Linked DNA regions of Homo sapiens: all the other regions are linked to region 3. Evidence: promoter capture Hi-C in human tissues and cell types (Jung and others, 2019). All regions are on one chromosome and are shown on one strand. Each heading gives the region's core, a stretch centred on a gene start or on the middle of the fragment in contact. The rest is flanking DNA. Distances are from core to core; before and after follow the strand shown.

Region 1 (4,356 bases), core at 1,259-3,758, 190 kb before region 3:
CATGGCTGTGACTTCAGCTGAAGGCTCAGCTTGGGAGAAGAAGGGGAAGTTTGTTTCCAAGCCTACTGGTGGGTCACTGGCAGGCCTTGGCTCCTTGCCATTGGGCCTCTCCGCAGTGCTGCAGTACCTGGCAGCACCTTCCCTGGGGGAGTGAGCCGAGAGAGTCCCCACGATGAAAGCCACAGGCTTTTTATAAAAGTGACCTTCTAAGGGACCACCTATCACTTGACTATATTGAGCTCATTGGAAGTGAGTTAATAAATCTAGCACACACTTAAGGGGAAGGGATTTCACAAGAAATGAATCATTGGAGCTGTCTTAGAAGAAGCCATTATTTTGTTGTTTGATGAGGTAATTAGAATTGGGCGGTATTTTTCAGTGAGCTTGCCAAATTTTATGTTTTGAATACAAAGATAGAGAAAGTAACCACATCATAGCTTTGCCTTCATGTTTTACTGTCCCTTCATAGTATTCCCAGTTAACTTGACCATGAAGAAATACTTAGGCTATAGTAGCTGTTAACTTAAATGGCCAGCTTTGTCTTTTTTTTTTTTTTAAACTTCTTTTTTTCTTTTTTTTTTCGAGACATAGAGTCTTGCTCCGTTGCTCAGGCTAGAGTGCAGTGGTGCAATCTTGGCTCACTGCAACCTCCGCCTCCCGGGTTCTAGCAATTCTCCTGCCTCAGCCTCCCAATTAGCTGGGATTACAGGTGCCCGCCACCACGTCCAGCTAATTTTTGTATGATTAGTAGAGACAGGGTTTCACCATTTTGGCTAGGCTGGTCTCGAACTCTTGACCTTGTGATCCGCCTGTCTCAGCCTCCCAAAGTGCTGGGATTATAGGCGTGAGCCAGGGCACTCGGCCTACCAGCTTTGTCTTATTCTATGTCCTTGGTAGAAAGGCCTGGGTAAGCTAAACGTAAAAAATAATTATAAAGCAAGCACAGAGGAGCTCATGAGCTAAGGAGCATGAAGGATGGATGGCAAGAATTTGTGATCCTGTACTCTTAAGCAGCATTAGTTTGGAACATAAAATTATGGTTATTTAGTTAGCTTTTCCCACCTTTTGCCATCTATCTGAATTGTTCTTAGGTCTTGTCTTTTAAGTAAGCTTGTTGTGGCAGCATATTGGCTTTCTGTGCCGTGTAATAAAGCACCACAGACTTAGCCGCCTAAAACCTTGTGTATTCCTGTATTTATTATATCACTGATTCCATGGGGTAGGAGTCCAGGCATGGCTTTTTGTGGGTCTCTGCTCAGGGTCTCACAAGACTGCAGTCAAGATTAAAGGCTCAGCTGAGGCTCAGGCTTCTTTTCCAAGTTTACATGATTGTTGGAAAAATTCATTTCATTGCAGCTGTAAAACTCATGATAGCTTGCTTCTTCAAGGCCAGTAAGAGAATCTCTGACCTTGGTGATGACCCCAGTCTTTCTTTTAAAGAACTCACCTGATTAGTTCAGGCCCGCTGAGAATCATGTCACTTTTGATTTGCTCAGAGTCCTTAATTGCGTCTGCAAAATCCCTACACCTTCTTTACGTACCATAACGCAATCATGGGAGTGACATCTCATTATATTCACGGGTCCTGCCTTCACTTAGGGGAGGGACGTGGGTCTTCTTAGAAATCTGCCTGTCATGGGCAGATAGCAGCCATTAATAATCCAGGTTCTACTTCCTTTTCTGTGTGTTAGGAACTGATTATCTGTGTCCCCACCCCCTGCCAAAATTCATACATTGAAGCCCTATCCCTCTTTGTGTTGGTATTTGAAAGTTGGGCCTTTGGGAGGTATTTAGGGTTAGATGAGGTTATGAGTATGTGTCCCCTCAGGATAGGATTAGTACCCTTATAAGAAGAGACATCAGAGAGCTCTCTCTAGAGCAAGCTCTTTCTAGGGCATATGAGGACACAGCAAGAAGGTGGCCTCTGTAAGCCAGGAAGAGGGCTTTCACCTATGCTCAACCATGCTGGCACCCTGATGCTGAGCTTCCAGCCCCTAGAACTATGAAAAAATAAGTTTCAATTGTCAGAGTCATCCAGTTTACGGTGCGGGTTGAGAATCCCTTATCTGAAACGCTGGGGACCAGAAGTGTTTTAGGTTTCAGATTTTGGAATATTTGCATTGAATATACCAGTTGAGCCTCCCTAATCCAAAATCCGAAATGCTCCAAAATCCAGAACTTTCTGAGTGCCAACATGACACTCAAAGGAAATGGTCAATGGAGCATTTCAGATTTTCGGGTTAGAAATGCTCAGCCTTCTGAATTACTCTAGAGTTTGGCCTGTCTTCCCCCAAGTCAACCTTGTTATTAGAATATGTTTCAAAGGGAAACTTGGGATTCCTGTGAGCTATGGTACTCTGAGAAGCTAGAGAGAATTCCTAGTAAGTCTTGCAGGCTTAGAGCCATATAAAGTATTACTCGAGCATTTATTTATTTATATTAATTTTGAGATGGAGTCTTACTCTGTCGCCCAGGTTGAAGTACAATGGCACAATCTCGGCTCACCTCGACCTCTGCTTCCTGTATTCAAGTGATTCTTCTGCCTCAGCCTCCCGAGTAGCTGGGATTACAGGCATGCGCCATGACACTTGGCTAATTTTTTTGTGTGTTTTTAGTAGAGATGGAATTTTGCCATGTTGGCCAGGCTGGTCTCAAACTCCTGACCTCAAGTGATCCACCCACCTCGACCTCCCAAAGTGCTGGTATTATAGGCATGAGCCACCATGCCTGGCCTCATTTATTTTTAAATAGCTGCAGTAATCCCGGCTTTAGATAAACCACATGAACTAATAATATCACTAGTGTTCAAAGGTAGAATTATATGTGTACCATATGTATTGCTATTAAATAAAGTCAAAAAAATTATAAGGTTTGTCTTTTCTCAGCTTGGTGACGTATTTCTTTAGCTCTAACATTAAGTATTCTCAGCCCCTCATTGTGGGTTTTTAAACTTAATTTTTAATTGTGTTCAGTATGTCTTAATAGTTTAAAAAGACAAATATTTTTACAAGGCTTCTAACAAAAAGAGTTAAATCCTGTCCCACTTCTCCCCTACTGTTTTCTACTTTAACAGTACATTAATACATTAAATTATCTTCAGTTTAAAATAACATGCTAATATTTTTTATTTCTTGATTTTTTTTTCTAGTCTTAATCTTTACTTGTAGAATTAATATGTGGAAGAAGAGAGTTTAATTCTCAGGTCCTTTATTTCCAAGAATTTTTTTTGCATTTTCTCTTAGGTAACTTCCTCTCCGTTGTTTTGCTGTTTTTTTCTGGAACTCCTGTTAATTGAACATTGGACCTCTTGACTTGATCCTCCAATTTTTAAATTTTTTTCCACCTTTTCTTCATTGCCTTAATCTTTTTCCTTCCTGAGAGATTTCCAGCATTTTCTCAACATTGTAACCCTTGTGTGAATTTTTTAAAATTTTGCCTATTTTTAATTGCAAAAGCCCCTTCATGTTCACTGGGAGCATATTTTTGTATCATGTATGCAACATTTTATCTCTGAGATAAAATTTTAATTTTTTTCTATTTCATTGTTTCTTCCCTCCCCTTCCTCCTGTTCTCCTTTCTTAGTCTCCTATTCTGCTTCCTCCTCTCCTTTCTCCCTTTTTCTTCACCCTCTCCTTCCTCTTTCTCTGCCTCCTCTTCCTTGTTCTCTGCTTTTTATGTTAGATATTTTGTTTAGGTGTCTAATCATCCCTAGCTGTCTTATTTTAGCAAGGCACAAGAAAAGGTGATTGGAAGCTCCTCTGCTTATGTAGGGTCTTTTGGTGGGTTTCACTATAGGGTAATGATAACATTTAGGGGAACCCCCATAATATCAGTATACACTATATTTTTTTCCCTCAGGATGCCCAGTTACCTTAAAGAAGTCCTTAGCCCATTTGGCCTGGGGTTTAGGGGAGGAGTGAGCAAGAAGTCTGGCCGTAGGTATTCAGGTAACCACACCATGCAAGGGGCCTGGAGTGATGTCATGCAGACTCATTTTTATGTCTCATCCTTTTTGTATTAGTTCCTTTTCACATTGCTATGAAGAACTACATGAGACTGGGGAATTTATGAAGAAAAGAGGTTTAATCGACTCACAGTCCTACAGGCTTAACAGGAAGCATGACTTGGGAGTCCCAGGAAACTTACAATCATGGGGAAGGTGAAGGGGAAACAAGACATGTCTTCTCATCATGATAGAGCAGGAAAGAGAGCCAGCAAAGGGAGAAGTGCCATGCTTTTTTTTTTTTTTTTTTTTTTGAGACGGAGTTTTGGTCTTGTTGCCCAGACTGGAGTGCAATGGCGCGATCTCAACTCACTGCAACATCTGCCACCCGGGTTCAAGCGATTCTCCTGCCT
Region 2 (4,842 bases), core at 8-2,507, 230 kb before region 3:
ACTAAACTCCAGCATCACTGCTATCAATTAAGGAGTGAATTCTAGTGTGTCACTAAAGCATTAAAACGTGACTTGTGGCTGGGTGTGGTGGCTCATGCCTGTAATCCCAGCACTTTGGGAGGCCGAGGCAGGTAGATCACTTGAGGCCAGGAGTTCGAGACCAACCTAGCCAACATGGTGAAATCCTGTCTCTACTAAAAATACAAAATTTAGCTGGGCGTGGTGCCACACACCTGTAATCCCAGCTACTCAGGAGGCTAAGGCATGAGAATCTCTTGAACCCAGGAGGCGGAGGCTGCAGTGAGCCAAGATCATGCCACTACACTCCAGCCTGGGCAACAGAGAGAGACTCCATCTCAATAAAATAAAATAATTAAAAAAAAACATAACTTGTTAATGCACCCATATCATAGAAGTTGTAGCTATCCTAACTAAATAAGTGATTTCATTACTTTAGGGAGGGATGAGAAGCTTAAATTATTATTGTTTTGAAGTAAACTTTCATCTTATTGTTTAAAATCACCTATGAAAGTCCTCCTTTTGGCTTAAATTTTGTTAAATGGCAATTTTTGGCTTAGGATGACAAGTGATTTTTCTACTAAACTAATATATCCATGTGTCATTATGATTTTTATCTCAGGAGTCTTTCCAAACATTAAGAAACTCTTCTTTATGATCACCTTATATTATAATTAAAACAGTTACTGGCCGGGCACAGTGACTCACACCTGTAATCCCAGCACTTTAGGAGGCCGAGGCGGGTGGATCACCTGAGGTCAGGAGTTCAAGACCAGCCTGGGCAACATGGTGAAACTCCATCTCTACTAAAAATACAAAAATTAGCTGGGTTCAGTGGCACGTGCCTGTAATCCCAGCTACTTGGGAGGCTAAGGCAGGAGAATCGCTTGAGCCCGGGAGGCGGAGGTTGCAGTGAGCCGAGATTGTGCCATTGCACTTCAGCCTGGGCGACAGAGTGAGACTCTGTCTAAGAAAAAAAAAAACTGTTATCATTTCTTACTAGCAGAAACTTGTCCTTACCTTAGCATTTAGGTCAAATGCAATGTGTAAAGTCCCTGGATTATCCAGAAATAGATTATAAATGAAATCACTTCTCTAAAAGAGAAAAAGCAAGAAACATCTACTTTGGAGTGTACACTGCTGCAATAAGCTGATTTAATGCCAAAGTGGAGACATTTTTAGCATGCTTTCCCAACTGAGGCCAAACAGATGCCTTCTCATTTGAGGGGGTGTCACAGGGAATCGTTTGAGCAGTCATCACATATGTATGCTCAACAGAATTCAGCAAAAACAATTGGGAAATTGCAGTCTGGTAAGAAATTTATGATTAGCTCATTTCTTTAGGTATATTCATACTAGGAAAGACAGGACTGCTTGCTTGTTTTCACTGAATTTCCATTTCTCCAGCCAGAATGGTGAGCTGTAAAGATGACATTGATAATGAAAGTCCTAGAAACCATTAACCATAAACATTTATGGAGTACCTATTCTGCCCAAGGCAGTTTGCTCAGAAAATCTGAGAATCTACTGTATCAAAGATGTTTTAACAACATGCAGCAGCTATTACTACAGTCCATGCCTTGCCTAATAGCAAAGAAGACAGTCTTTACTGTGCTGACATCTGCCCTGGAAGGCATGTCTCTGAGTATGGCTGCACTCCTTAATTCTCAACTAAGGACCTCTGCATCCTGGGGAATTCAGTTAAATGGTCCAGTGTGGGGGAGAAGGAGGGCAATCCCTCAGCAAGGAGGAGTTGTGAAAGATGGAAAAGACACAGGACCTGTGGGTGACAGTCTATCTAATAAGGATCATGTACAACGGTGACACGTGCCAATCTCATTGCATGGTAGTCACATGATTCAAGAACCTTTTTGTTCCAGCTGTTCCTGACAGCTGTTCTCCTCCCTCTCGCTCAGCACGAAGTTCCTGAAGCACCCAGATGACAGCCTTATGTTCAGTGTGGTCACCTGCACTGCCTGATTATACTTGCTAAATACTAAGATGAAAATACACTTGCTCTATCTCCTGCTTTCATTTCTTCTCTCTATCTCTCAGTCTCTAACTCACATGTATTTACCCGCTTTGCAAGTTTCTGCATGTCCATGTTTTTAAATGTCCCTATAAGCAACACTTTCCTAATTCATTTACTGTATCAAAGAAAATATCTCCTCCAGTACCTTCATCCCCATTAAGCCTTGGAGCTAAGTACTCCAGAAATATCATCCATTACTTTTTCCTTGAAAGTCATGCAAAAAAATTATGACATTTATATATAAAGATGGTTTTTTTCAATCTAAAGATGTTGAAAAATCTCCACAGTAGGAAACTATTACTACAGACTGCATATGAATGCCTGTATCCCATGAGATTCTACCACCGAGTCTCCCGAGATGGTGTATTGAAAGCCCCTTTTAACCTGAACTCTTCATTTGGATTGCATTTGCAGGAAGCTTGTAAATGCTGTATATAGGGAATATTTGTTGACTGATGGAATCAATTTAAATGCAAGTCGTGAGTTTTAAGAAAATTAAAGCAGCTTTATATAGAAGTGAAGTTAAGGCAAACTCCATGGCTTGCTGTGAAGTGGAATTAGAGTGCAGGCACAGATACCAAAATCTATATTCTTCACTCCTGGCACTGGCTGGTAACAACAAAAAAATCCTGAAAGGGATCTGCTGGAGACAGGATTGGCGAGAGCAGGGGAAAAGACAAACGGCACTGCTTCAGCTGGAGCACAGAGGACAGGACCCGTTCAGGAGCCAGAGGAGGAGATGGAAAGCAACCCACAGAAGCCATGAGGCCCTGGGGGCTCTGGTAGGACACAGCAAAGAAATGCAGGTGGATGGTTCCCTCTATTGGTGAAAAAATTGCAGATCATATTAGTTGCATCATTGATTTCTGGGAAACAATGAAGAAAATATCGGCAAAGGTAATATCTGAGGATACCAAGGTAAGGTGGGGAAATCTCATTTGCAATTTTAGGAAAGGAATCCAGTTTGGTGGTCTGGAGCATTTGTAATAGCAAGCCAGAGTCACATGGAAGCCCAGGAGCTCGCTTAATAACTTATTTTTATATTTATTTATTTATTTGTTTGTTTTGAGCCAGAGTTTTGCTCTTGTTGCCTAGGCTGGAGTACAATGGCGTGATCTTGGCTCACTGCAACCTCTGCCTCCCAGGTTCAAGTGATTCTCCTGCCTCAGCCTCTCAAGTAGCTGGGATTACAGGCACCCACCACCAGGCCCGGCAAACTTTTTTTGTATTTTTAGTAGAGACAGGGTTTCACCATGTTGGCCAGGCTGGTCTCGAACTCCTGACCTCAGGTGATCCATCTGTCTCGGCCTCCCAAAGTGCTGGGATTACAGGCGTGAGCCACTGCGTCCAGCCTTAATAACTTATTTTTAGGACAAAATGTATGTGTAGATTTTATTATATGCAGAAACACAATTACATTAAATCTAGCTCTTTGTTTCATAGTAAATTAGAGCTTAGCACAAATACTATTCCTCCTGTATAAATGATTTATTTAGCTAAACAAATTACATTGTAATTCTCCTCAGTTTAAAAATGTAGAGCTTATGGGTTTTCAAAAGGTTCAGGGGAAACATACTAAGTTTCAAAGCCTAAAACTGTTAACATTCCTCCCTTATTCTTACTTTATCATGATATGCTATGCTGCAGATGTTTCTCAGAGACATTCAGTGAAAATCTAAGTCTCTCTGTTCATCATTTTTAATAGCCATGTGAGTTCAAGTCTTCAAGAATGGTTGAAAGGGGACAAATAAGGAACTCTCTTTTCTTAAATTAAAAACAAGAAAGTCTTCACCAACTTAAGCATCTGGGAAGCTATAAACTGAGAGTAATAAAAATTGATTAACCTTAACTGGAGAAAACTCCCACAGACCTTGAAATATTTTTGTGTAGGAGATAAATAATACAGCTGACTAATGATCTCACAAGTGCAAATATAGAAGACGAACTGGAGACATCTACAGGATCTTCCTTGTTCGGAACACTGCTCAGGTCTTTGTTCTTTGATGGAAATCTACATTTACGAGCCACCAGATCTGGCCTGTCAAACCTACTTTTCGTTTTGGTGACTGACTGATATCCAGATGACATGAACAGCGTTTACATGTGACACATAAATATGTGCATGCAATTTAAGAGCTTTGCCGGTCATCAGATTTGGAGAAGGAATAAAGGAAAAAATCATATGCATTTTTTAATATTTACATATCAATACAAGACTAAATTTCAGTCTTTGTGCCTCATAGTGAGATCAGCAGAAACTCTGCCTGCTTTTTTTCTATTGAGAAGTTCAACAACTTTAGAAACAAAAAAAAAATTACCGTTTAATTCTTTTGCAGTACACATTTTAGTCTAAAAAAAAACCCTTTATTATTTTCCATGATTGAGAATCAGTGTGTCCTTTTTGCTTAAAAGTATCAAAGAATGAAAAAGGATTTCATGCATCCAGATATTAATTGAGGAAGCCGCTAGTGGCCTTTGCTGTAAGAATATTGATATTTTAAGTACATTTTGAAAGGTTGAATAAGTGAAAATAAATAGTGCATCTATGCTCATTGAGTTTAGACATTTAGATCAGAGATTCTCAACCTGAGAGTCTCAATAGAAACTCTATTGATCATTTGTGAGATTTGTCTCAAGAAAGTGTTTGCTCCTAATGAAGCGTTACCAGGAGCAGTTTGAGAGGTGGGGAGTTTTCTTATCGTGAGACTGGACTCAAGATTCAGTGCAGTGGCAAAGTCATTGAGCTTTGCACGTCAGAGGGAAATAAAGGTTTTCCTTAAACAAAGAAACTC
Region 3 (4,420 bases), core at 614-3,113:
TAAGACTATTAATCTATATAAGCACAGAACATACTCATGCATTCCATATGGAAAAATATTCTTACTAACTTATTTCATGCTATCACATCTGGATATTTGTGATCAAATGATGCTCCCAAAGATAATGATCTTATTTTGAAAAATCTCTGCCAATGAATCTTTACAATATCAGTATTATAAATCACGCTCAGGCCTGGCACTGTGGCCCATGCCTACTATCTCAACATCTTGGGAGGCCAAGGAGGGAAGACTGCTTGAGGCCAGGAGTTCGAGATCAGCCTGGGCAACAAGGTGAGATCCTGTCTCTACAAATAATAATAATAATAATAAAAAACAAATAGCCAGGCGAGGTGGCACACGCCTGTAGTCCCAACTACTAGGGAGGCTGAGGTGGGAGGATAGCTTCAGCCTGGGAGGTTGAGGGTACAGTGAGCTGTGATTGCACCACTGCACTCCAGACTAGGCTAGGAAGTGAAACCCTGTCTTAAAAAAAAAAAACTCACGCTCAGCCATGGGCAAAAGCAAAGTAGTAGGTAGTGTATCATCTTTTGCCAAATAACAAAATTTACAACCTGCCTTTTACTTGACAACCTTTTATTCCAGTATTTTTTTCTGTATGAAATACACACAGTCAGCATCCACCAATAATAGAGACAATCATTTCAGAAGTATAGGAATTATAAAAATAAGTTTTAAGTATGATGTTAAAGTATTAAATTCATTGGAACAAAATATTTGTTACAATCATATAGGAGATTAATACTTCGATACTTTCCTTCCGAACTCTGAAGTTTCAAATAGTACTTCATTTTTCTTTTTCAGTTTCAAAACATGCTTACCTGCAGATGTCTCCTTGAAAATTGAGGGCCGCACCAGAGAAAGATGAAGCCCATCAAGTCTCTAACAACTAGGTTTAAATCCCTTATAATAGCTTATGCGAAAAGTAGTTAGAAACAGTATTTCCAGCAAAGTGGAGGGACTTTGTCTTGCCCTGATAATGTGGGAATCTGAATCAAAATTGCTAGGAGATTATTTTATATGTTATATACAATACATTATATTGCATATATTATAATTCGGAACAATTTCTACAGCTACAGAGAAAAATGGGTAACCAAATATCCTGGAATATAAACTGCTGTGGAGAAACGAGTTCTTGGAAAGAAAAATCTTAAAGGGAGAAACAGATTTAACCGCCATCCAAAATAGGTAAGGAGCCGTTTCTCGACTTACTTATTCCCTGATGTATCCACTGCCTGAATATAGAAATAGCGGGCGGGAAGGACGACGTCTGCTTTTAGCCCGGGTCCCCATATTTCGCTCTTCTCCGGGCTCAGCTGCCTTTCTCCGCCGGTCTCGGCGAGTGCTGGAACTGTCGCCAGAAAGAAGCAATAAAGTAGCAAAGTGCCAAACATTTACAAGACGGACTCTCGAAATGATCCACCGATAAATGAAGAAGTGTAAGAGGTGGACAGAAGCAGCCGAGCCTTCGGCAGGGACCCGCCGGCCGATCGCAGCAGCCAACGCGACTGCAAAGGTTGCCGCCCGGCGTGCAGGGCAGGCGCGCGGGTCTCCGCGACCCCAGGACAATCAAAGCCCGTGCCCCGGCGCGCCCAGGTGAGGGTCCCCTGGCGTTCTGCTGTCCCGGCCGAGAACCGCGCTGCTCCTCTCTCTCAGGACAATGATGAACTTGAGTTGCTCCTGCCACTGGAGCATCATTTGGGAGCGAATCCGTCTCAGGTTCCAGCCAAGGTGTAGGGCGAGGGGATTGGCCCGTGCGTCGGGCCAGGCTCAGTAACGCCTTCTCCAAGTGGATGGCGGGGTGGACACGCGTCCCGGCGCCCCGGGCTCCCTGGGATATGTAGTTCGCGACAGGACGAGCGGAAATACTGCCAGGATTTTACCACCTCTCGCCCATTTATTTACTTCTCGGTCACCGCTTTCGGGGGACAGATAAACACCACAGATGCCCATCAAAGGGGCGCACGGGTCTGGAGGCGCAGCTCAGGTTTTTGCGTTGGTCACCCTGCCCTCCGCACGTGGAGAGGGCAGGCATAAAGCACCTTGAAAGGAAGGTGCTGTCAATGCTATCCGACGACCTGTCGCCGGGCACCGCAGCATCCTCGCTCGCTCCGATGGGACGAGGGACGCCGGCCCCAGGGTAACAGGAGGCGCCTCGCCGGCCGCGCGCTGGATGCTGTGATCCAGGTCCGGAGCCGGGTTCCGCCGCGGCCGCAGCGACCCGACCCCACCCGACAGGCCAGAGGTACCCCGGGGCGGGGGGCAGGGGCCGAGGTGGCGGCCGGCTGTGCGCTCTGAGCGCCTGGCCCTCCGCTGGGCACCTGGGCGCCGCCAGCCCGGCCTGCTGCCGCTCTACGCGCAGCCACCTGGGCATTCAAAATTTTTACTTAATTCGATACCGGCCTGGGCTGCCAGGGGTCATCGCCTCTCCGAGCCCCGTGGCGTCCAGATGGAGGCCACTGCATGGGTGCGCGCTCTCCCGGGAAGGAGTAGGGGGAAGAGCTGTGTCGCGGGGGGAAGAGAAGCGCCAGGGAAAGAAGGGCCTAGCCCTCTGGTGAACAAAGCTCGATTAGGAGGTGTCCATGTGGATACCGGTGACCCCTGTGCGGCCGTCGGTCTCCACGCCACGCTGGGCAGGGTCCGGGAACCAGCGCGCAGCGGCCGTCGCCTTCCCCTGCACGCCAGCACCCGGGTCTGGGCCGCCGCCAGGAGTCACGGGCTCACCGCCCTGGTCAGCTTGGCAGTCGGACCCGGAGCCGCCTCCTCTGCCTGCCTCCCTCTTGCCAGCTGCCCCGAAAACCCAGAAGAGCCGGTGGCTCCGAGCCAAGGCGGGCCTGGTTCGGCGCCAGGAAAGGGGGTTTCTTTCCTATTTTCTTTTGTGCAATTGTCATTATTAATGATACCGACTCGTTTACTCAAACAGTCGAATCGGAGCCCCAGCTCTTAGCCCGGATGCAGCAATTGCCCGTGGGCCCCCTTTAACACCAACAGCGTCCCCGGGGCCCGGGGCAAGCATGTTCGAGGCGGTCACCCCCGGGCCTCGGCGCGCTCCCCCTGGCGGAGAGCCTCGTCTTCCGGCCGGTGAGGGAAGGTAGAGGAGGGAGTAGGGGCGAGGAGGCCTCGGCGGCCCTTGGGCTCTGCGGGCTGGGGACTCGGGGTGCCCGCGACACGCGCGGAGGCGCGGGCTGGGTTGGCCACGGGCAGGGAGCGCAGCCGCGCTCCTTCCTCTCTGCCCGCGTCGCCTCCGCGCGCACTGGTTCTGCGCGGCGGGGCTTGGCCTGCGCGACTGTCTACTCCGTCCCGGCGGCCTCGGAGCCCGGCCGAGCGGCGAGCTTGTCAGAGGACGGTGGTGGAAACGCTCCCGGCCTCCCCAGGGGCGCGGGCTGGAGGCTGGCGCCAGGCGCGGAGGACTCCCGGTATCTTTTGACAGGCTGGCGCCTCGGCTCTGGGGACCCGCAGGTCTGAAGGGGAGGAAGGGGCCTGGAGGGCGCGGGAGGACACCGGGTGGGAAGGGTGGCATTAGCTCGGCCGGGGGCTATGCGCCTCTGGTTTCGCCCTCCCGCGCATATTCGACCCTTACGAGGTCACCGGAATGCCCCTGCTCCTCAGTTGCCTTCTATACAGGATATCGATCAGGGTATTTTGTTATACGAAAAGGCTTTACTGAAGAGGTTTTTAGAGATGTTTGGTTCTCTCATAAACTTGATACTTGAGAATACAGACAAAATATAACCTGAAAAGACTACAACCTAGGCGATGAAGATTGGCTTTACAAATGGACGTTTATTTTACAGAACACTTCGTTCAGTGACTTTGAACAATCATGACTCTGGCGGTGCTTTTTAAACTTGCCATTTTATAAATTTTTGCTTTGCATACGAGCAAACCATATTTCTATTGCTTATGACATGATTTTATGAGTAAGCTATTAGTTGAGCCTGAGGTCCTGCAGTCATTCTTAGTAGTAAATTTTTTTTTTTTTTTTTTTGAGACGGAGTTTTGCTCTGATCGCCCAGGCTGGAGTGCAATGGTGCAACTGTAACCTCCACCTCTGGTGTTCAGCGATTCTCCAGCCTTGCCTCCTGAGTAGCTGGGCCTACACGCATGCGCCACCATGCACGGCTAATTTTGTATTTTTTTATTTTTTATTTTTTTTTAGTAGAAACGGGTCTCACCATGTTGGCCAGGCTGGCCTCAAACTCCTGACCTCAGATGATCCACCCGCCTCAGCCTCCCAAAGTGCTGGGATTACAGGTGTGAGCCACCACGCCGGCTTAGTAAATCTTAATATAGCAACACCTCACTTGCCTGGAAGAGGGAACCGCAATCAATCAAAATGAGGGCCTACAGTAATGCCTGGCATGATGCAAACACTTAAAAATTATCTGTTGAATGAGAC

The links. Contacts are between HindIII fragments. The study calls those that stand out against the background at their distance.
Region 1: a contact is called between a fragment that was not itself captured here and the fragment with the promoter of BIVM in region 3, in 1 of the 25 tissues and cell types used here (H1 embryonic stem cells).
Region 2: a fragment that was not itself captured here is called in contact with the fragment with the promoter of BIVM in region 3 in 3 of the 25 tissues and cell types used here (adrenal gland, bladder and spleen).

The regions. Positions count from the first base shown.
Region 1 is chr13:102,605,158-102,609,513 of GRCh38, forward strand. All of the region lies in intron 2 of TPP2 (tripeptidyl peptidase 2), which reads left to right. Among named protein-coding and RNA genes, the nearest start is that of TPP2, 10 kb to the left of the region's middle. The HindIII fragment of the contact is 4,936 bases long and covers 41-4,356 here.
Region 2 is chr13:102,568,428-102,573,269 of GRCh38, forward strand. No RefSeq gene overlaps it. Among named protein-coding and RNA genes, the nearest start is that of TPP2, 26 kb to the right of the region's middle. The HindIII fragment of the contact is 4,812 bases long and covers 1-3,663 here.
Region 3 is chr13:102,797,256-102,801,675 of GRCh38, forward strand. BIVM (basic, immunoglobulin-like variable motif containing) reads left to right here and starts at 1,864. Exons shown (of 11, transcript NM_017693.4): 1 at 1,864-2,266. POGLUT2 (protein O-glucosyltransferase 2) reads right to left here and starts at 1,721. Exons shown (of 10, transcript NM_024089.3): 1 at 1,234-1,721. The coding sequence starts at 1,415. RefSeq lists an enhancer at 1,871-2,090 and silencers at 2,151-2,420, 2,981-3,030, 3,061-3,490. The HindIII fragment of the contact is 13,413 bases long and covers 1-4,420 here.